Linked DNA regions of Homo sapiens: region 2 is linked to region 1. The links are contacts of gene promoters, found by promoter capture Hi-C in human tissues and cell types (Jung and others, 2019). All regions are on one chromosome and are shown on one strand. Each heading gives the region's core, a stretch centred on a gene start or on the middle of the fragment in contact. The rest is flanking DNA. Distances are from core to core; before and after follow the strand shown.

What was found. Contacts are between HindIII fragments. The study calls those that stand out against the background at their distance.
Region 2: a fragment that was not itself captured here is called in contact with the fragment with the promoter of TP53I11 in region 1 in 2 of the 25 tissues and cell types used here (heart left ventricle and thymus).

The regions. Positions count from the first base shown.
Region 1 is chr11:44,949,292-44,952,715 of GRCh38, reverse strand. TP53I11 (tumor protein p53 inducible protein 11) reads left to right here and starts at 1,833. Exons shown (of 7, transcript NM_006034.5): 1 at 1,833-2,039. RefSeq lists silencers at 1,644-1,903, 1,934-2,063. The HindIII fragment of the contact is 16,895 bases long and covers 1-3,424 here.
Region 2 is chr11:45,185,638-45,189,061 of GRCh38, reverse strand. The region is part of intron 4 of PRDM11 (PR/SET domain 11); the gene reads right to left. Among named protein-coding and RNA genes, the nearest start is that of PRDM11, 41 kb to the right of the region's middle. The HindIII fragment of the contact is 7,766 bases long and covers 1-3,424 here.

The DNA of each region.
Region 1 (3,424 bases), core at 584-3,083:
CCTCCCTTCAGCAATCCAGAGCCCTGAGTGCCAGAAAGGCAGAAGAGGGAGTGACAAATGAATTCATCAACCCAGCTTGGCCCAGCTCTGTAAAGGCAGTGAGGTGAGACTGAGTTGTTGCAGAAATTACTATAGAGCCTTGAGTCAGATGGCTCCACCCAACACACCTTAAAAATAATCCTCATCTAGAGTCACATACTTTGATTGATTGATTGATTCATTCATTATTGGCTATCACTGTCTAGGTGTTTGGCTGGGGGCAGTGTCAGTGGCACTGGGGCATCAGAGTTTATCTACCTTAGTAATCAGGACAGTTTATATTCACTGAGCACTTACTATGAACCAAGGACTGTTCTGTTTACTTCCTTGCCAAGGGCACAGACTCTCCTGCCCAATCCCAGCTCTGGTGAGGACAGTGGGAGCCTGCATGGCACAGAGTCCATGCACAGTAAACATGAGCAGCTCCTATTAACTCTAAATCTCTACAGCAACCATAGCCGGTTCTTACTATTGGTTGCTCTAGGTGACTTACTTTGTCCAAGGCCACACAGGCACTAAAAGGCAGAGTCAGGATTTGAACCTAGGTGATCTGGTTCCAGAGCCTGCTCTATTAACCGTTAAGGAACTGGTGCAGACAGAACCGAGACCTGGAGTCAGAATGCCCACCTAGCTAGATGCCTGAGGCAGCCACTCACCTCTTTCTGTCTTATTTACTTGTGAAATGGAGCATGTCATCAGCCTTGCCTTCCTTTTCCCGCAGCCCCCCACCCCGGTTCCTGGCCCACTGTGACCATCAGATCAGATGAAAGAGATCCAGGCATTTCTCTAAGGAGAGCACAGGGTGGTGGGGGTTGGGGTGGGAGAGAGCACATTATTTTCCCACCATAAGGGGTTGAAGGAGCCCAGAATTTGGGGGTGGGGCCTTGTCTGTAGGAGCCTGGTTCTCTCAGGTTGACACGCCACCAGAGAGCCTCCATGACCCCCAACCCTCATCCTCACCCCAGCCCCCCATAGGATGTGTAGAGACAAAAGGTTTGACAACTGTAGCGCCAACAAGCGTCCTAGAGCCCCAGATAAGATCCTAGCCTCCTGACAGCGCAACTGACAGCAGCATCTCTGAGGCTGGATTTTAGGGTGGAGTATGAAGAAGGTGGCCGTAGTGACAGTGGGGTCATGTTATTTGGCCAAGTCACACCAAGCAGGGAGAGAGAAGGGTGGGCCTAGGCTGGAAGCCTGAAGGCTGAGTGAACTCAAACTTTAACGACCATGGCCTGTAAAATGGGACTAAGCACAGCGCCCTTATGGGTTGCTGTGAAAATCAAATGAGTTAATACTTGTAACTCCTTTAGCATATGGTGTCTGGCATCAGAGAGTGCGCAGCAAACGGTGACTATTGTCGTGACTGTGTTATTACACACTTGGGTATCACCGCCAGCCAAAGCAGTCCCTTCCATTTCAGGCACCGGCCTGGGCCCGGGAGACACCGCAAGGCTATTTAAGATGGTGTGGTTTGCCCATCTACGTTGATCGTCCCAAGAAAGGGGCACCGTCTGCAGAACTTGCCAGGAAAGTCATCCTGGGCGGCGCGGGCCACGCCAGGGTCTCCCCGCGCGGCTTCCTCCCCCGGCGCCTTCTCTCGGGCGCGCGTGCGCCCCCTGCAGGCGGCCCCCGGGAGAGCCTCGCGGGGGAGCCGGGAGCCTGGTTTCCCCGCCAACCCCCATCCCGCCCGCCCCGGCGGCCACCCTGGGGGCGAGGCAGCCCGGCGCGTGGGAGGGGACGGCGCGCCATTGGCTTGTGCGCGGAACCGAGAGGAGGGACCAGCGCGGGCCGCCAGACTCGGTAAGCCCCGGCCGCGCAGGGCGCCGCGCGCAGTCCAGCCGGCCCGGCCCTGCCCTGCCCTGCCCTGTCCTGCCCTGCCCTGCCCTGCCCTGCCCTGCACTGCCCGGCCCGGCACGGGCGGCGCGATGTGAGGCGTCCGAGCCCGGAGCCTCCGCCTGGCATCAGCTCCACGTAGCCCAGCGCCGGCACGCGCGAGGCCCGTAAGTTCTGCTCCCCGCCGCCGCTTCCGAGCCGCGGACTTTCCCCTCCCGCCGCCCGCCGCCTGCGCAGCGCAACCCAGCGGGGCTCCTGCGGCCGACGGGACCGCAGAGGGGCGGCCGGGACCCCGCGCGCGCTAACCGGGCGCCCCGGGACATCTCGGCACCCGCTGAGCCCGCTGGGACCCCAGGGGGTCGCCTCCCCAGCTCCCCAAGGCGCCGTCCCGCAGCCCCTTCCGTCTCCCCTGCGCGCTCTCCCCTCGCCGCCCCTCCCTCTGACTCGGTTTCCCCTCTCCCCCGGCTCCGCGGTCGCCCTCCTCCTGGACTGCTTATTTCGTCCTCGGCCACTGCCTCTCGGGCTCGAGCTTTCTGCTTCAGAGCAGGAGAGAAACGGAGCGAAAGCAGTTTCTGTCTCCCCGGGGTCTGACTCGGTCCCCCGCGCTCGGTTCTCTGTCCCCTCCCCCTCCCGCCATTGTTCCCGGCAGGAGGAGTGCGCGGCGCAAACTTGCGAGTTCCCCCAGTCTTTGCCCCCGCAGGGCCGCGGACGGAGGTGGTGGCGGAGTTCCCGCTGCCCACAAGTCTGGCCCGACCTTCTGGGGTGGGGGCCTGGGGGCAGGGGCCCTGGGCCGGAGAACCCGGGGCCGCCTAACGGCTCGGAGCTCACCGCCGGGGGACACCGGCGCTGAGGCCTGGGTCTCAGAAAGTGGGTGAGTGTCTGGAGCGGGGACATCAGGGACAGATTGCAGGGGGAGGGGCGAGGCTGAGAGAGTCCCCCGTCCCCAGGCTGGAAAGGGGCGGGCAGAAACCCAGGCCGCGCCTTAGCCCAGTTAGGGGGTGGGTAGGGGACGCACAGGTGGAGACGCCCCCCACTCTCCCCAAAGTCGCGCGATCTGCAGGAAGGGTACAGTGTGGGGCCACTGGCCGGGCGCTGGGTGGGTTAGGGCCCCTGCCGTGGGCAGAACACTCGCACCTACCCGGGGGAGGCTGTGTGGAGGAAGGGCCAGAACGCCGCGCCCACCCCGGCGCGCCCCGCTGGGCGGGGCGGGGCGGGGCGCTCGCCTTGGGTCCCCTCGCTCTACCTTCCTTCGCCCTGACCCAGTCTCGGGCTTCCGCCTCTTCCTGGAGCCCGGGGGGAGTGGGTTTCTCCGCCGGAGAGATGGAGGCTGGGGCAAGAGCAGCGCGGAGGCCAAGAACCCCCAGGCTCCTCCAAAGCCCAGAGCGGCTGGCCAAGGCCCCCTCACCGCCCCACTACCCTGCACTTCCTGATTGGTTTCTTTCAAACAAACTTCTTGACGGGGCGGGCCTGCGGGGAGAAGTCACCGGGGCTGCCCACCCCAACTATGTGGTCCCTTGGACCTCCACCCCTGACGGCCTGTGGAGAGGGGACC
Region 2 (3,424 bases), core at 376-2,875, 240 kb before region 1:
GATGTGGTGGCGCATGCCTGTAATCCCAGCTACTAGGGAGGCTGAGGCAGGAGAATTGCTTGAACCCAGGAGGCAGAGGTTGCGGTGAGCTGAGATCGTACCACTGCACTCCAGCCTGGGTAACGAGAGCAAAACTCCATCTCAAACAAACAAAAAAACAAACAAACAAAAAATCCCATGTTGGCTTCCTCTGTCTTCTGCCTCTTTACCAAACCACATGGCTGCGCAGCACCCCCAAATGCCTCGTGCCAGCAGCATGGTTCCTGGCCTGCAGTGTCTGAGGGTAGCCTGGGTGATCTTGGCAATGAATCACAGCATTTATAATTTCCAATAGGATGAAAAAGCAGAGCAAGGGGCATGTCTTTCCTAGACAGGCAGAGGTGAGTGTCCAACTCCTGCCAAGTCAGCCAGGCCACGAAGGAGAGTTGTGGAGTGGAAATGGCCATTCGGTCCATTATGACCCAGGCCCATGCCTTGTACCACTCTGCCCAAAGTCAGGCCAGCTTTCCTCCAGGTTAAGCGAAGACAAAGAGGGAACTTGTGCTGGGCAGGAAGAATGAGTAGAATAGAGTCTACCCAGGCAAGGAGGTAAGAAGAGGCGTGCTAAGTAAGGGAGGCTAGAGGGCCAAGAGGCGGAATGAGAGGGTAGGTTCTGGAGTCAGACTGCACAGGTTTGAACCCCAGCTCAGTGACTCACCAGCTGTTTAGCTTTGTGCAGAATGACTCATCCTCTCCAGGCCTCAGTTTTCTCAGCTGTGCAATGGATGGAATAATACCTATGTCACAGGAGCGTTGTTAGGATCAGATGAGATTATGCTATAAAGCACTGAGCACAGACCCAGACACATAGTAAGTGCTCAATAAACATTAACAGCTATGCTTGTCATGACCACCACCATCATTTCTACAGAGTAGAGTGCATATACTGAGGGAGGGAGTGTGGAGGGAAATGTGTTGTGCTGAATGGGGGCCAGAGCTTTTGCAGGCAGGCAGAAGGTCCAAAGAAGATGATATCCAGTATGGCTTTGGGACAGGACTTGACAAATGAGGGCAGTTTATTTAGGATATGGGGCTTCTAGATCTTGGTCCAAAAATCAGCACCACTGTTCACCCCACCTTCCCCGTACTCTCCCACCATTTGGCCTACCCATCAGCAGAGCAGGCAGGGCCGTTCTTCACGCCTGCTTTTCCCCAGTGGAGGCCAAAAACCCATGCCCAACACACACATACACACACACACACACACACACACACACACACACGAACTTTTCTTGAGCCACTTTAAGCATCTGGTGGCTCTAGGCCTTCAATGTCTCTCACCTCTTGGGTTCCCAAAGGTCAAAGCCCCCATATGGCCTTGCAGCCTCTAACCACTGCCTCCCTGTGCCCATCTGCTGGCTGCTGGCTGCTGGCTGCTGGCTGCAGCTAAGGCCCTAGGAAGAAACCTCAGAGGGAATAACCTCCAGGCCACCAGTCCCACCTCCTGAACTGGGGCCACGCCTACTCGTGACTGGTGGAGCTAGTCTAGAACCAGGTTGCAAACACCAGGGCCTTCTATTCCTCCTTTCTTCTCACCGTAGACCTGTGCCAGGCAGCCAACCTGGGAAAGTTCATCTGCTTTAAAGATTCTCAACTTTCCATGGCTGGGCTGTCCCAAGGTACAGACTCTAGCAGCTGCAGAAAGGGATCCTAATAGCCATTCCTTGGGCACAGTCTTAGATTTTTTCTCCTGCAATTTTCCAATAGGCTGTGAAGCCATAGGCTTCCTCTGTTGAACGTCTATCCATCCTTCAAGACAAGATCCATCTCCAATCTGCCCTGTTGAAACCAATCCCCCTCTCCCTACTGCTACAGCCCTCTGCAGCACTGCGATCACCAAGCAATACTCTGCCTCTGTATTACTTGGTTGGGAATAAGCTTCCTCCCCTCCTATCCACCATGGCCCCTGCTCCTCATAACTGAACCACAGGCTCCATAAGAACAGACAGCAAACCTCACGCAGCCCTGTTATCCCCAGAGCTCCCTGCTCAGGACCTAGTGCTCTGGAGTTGCTCTGTGTATGTGAGGTTGGGTTGAACCTGGACACATAACCAAAACTGGCTCAGGGTAGCTATTAACTGCTCCACCCCATTAGCAATGTCTCCCAATAAGGGAAGTCCTCACATGGTGGAGGGACACTATCTTTGAAGGAACCCAAGGTCTACTGTGGACCAGCTGTGGGAGTCCTGTGTTTCCTCGTCAGAACAAGAGGGGCAGCAACCCCCACCCTATGGACTGTTTCGAGGAAGAGTATGAGATGCCAGAGGTGTCCAGTATGCACCTGGCATATAATAATTGCTCAGTGGGCAACCAGACTTTTAAAACAAGCCATGCACCCTTGCTAGTTCCCTTTCCTCACCTCCCACTGACACCTTAATCCATGGCAATCTGGCTTCCGCCCATGAGACTGCTCCTGCCAAGGGGGCCAAGGAGACTTCCTACTGTCTCCTCCTACTGCTCCATGCCTCCTCAACTCCTCTCCCTCCAAGGATTCCTCAAACTCATATTCCAAAGGAAATGCCTCTTCTCTCCTCCCCAAGCACCTTTTCTGTAGGAAATGCCCTCCCTTCTCCGGGCTTCAGCTGCATTAATTTATATACTTAGTTTTCCCTGTCATCCCAGCATCTCTCTACTGCAGAGCCACACACACCAGAGTGCTCTGGACAGCTCCCCTGAGCATCTCACGGGCACCAGGAACTCTACTCATCCCAAGCAGAACTCACCTTCTCTGATCTCCTCGATTTCAGGCCACCTCAATCCACCTCCCTGCATATTTTAGTAGATGTCCCCCCACAAACATAAAAGCCTCCTATATGAGTTCCCTGTTGCTCCTGTAATAAATTGCCAATAAACTGCCAAAACCACAGTGGCTTAAAACAACACACATGTATTACCTTATAGTTCTAGAGGTCAGAAGTCCTACAATCAAGGTGTTGGCAGGGCCACATTCTTTCAGGAAGCTCTGGGAATTAATGTGTTTCTTTGACTTTTCTGGCTTCCAGAAGCTGCCTGCATCCCTTGACTCCCGGCTCCTTACTCTATCTCGAAGGCCAGCAGAGCAGCATCCTCCAATCCCTTTCTCTCTGACTCTGAGCCTCCCACCTCCCTCTTATTAAGATGCCTGTGATTACACTGGGCCCACCCAGGTAATCCAAGATCATCGCTCCCATCTCAAGATCCTTAACTTAATCACATGTGCAAAAAATCCCTTCTGCCATGAAGATAGTATATTTACAAGTTCTAGGGATTAGGACAGGGACATTTTTGGGGGGACATTATGTGGCCTACTATACCTAACTATCTCTATCTGCTCTAATCCTCTGGGCTAACCCTGTAGGGACAGAAATGATGCTGATCCACCCCCTTTTTTGTCCAGTATCTCCAT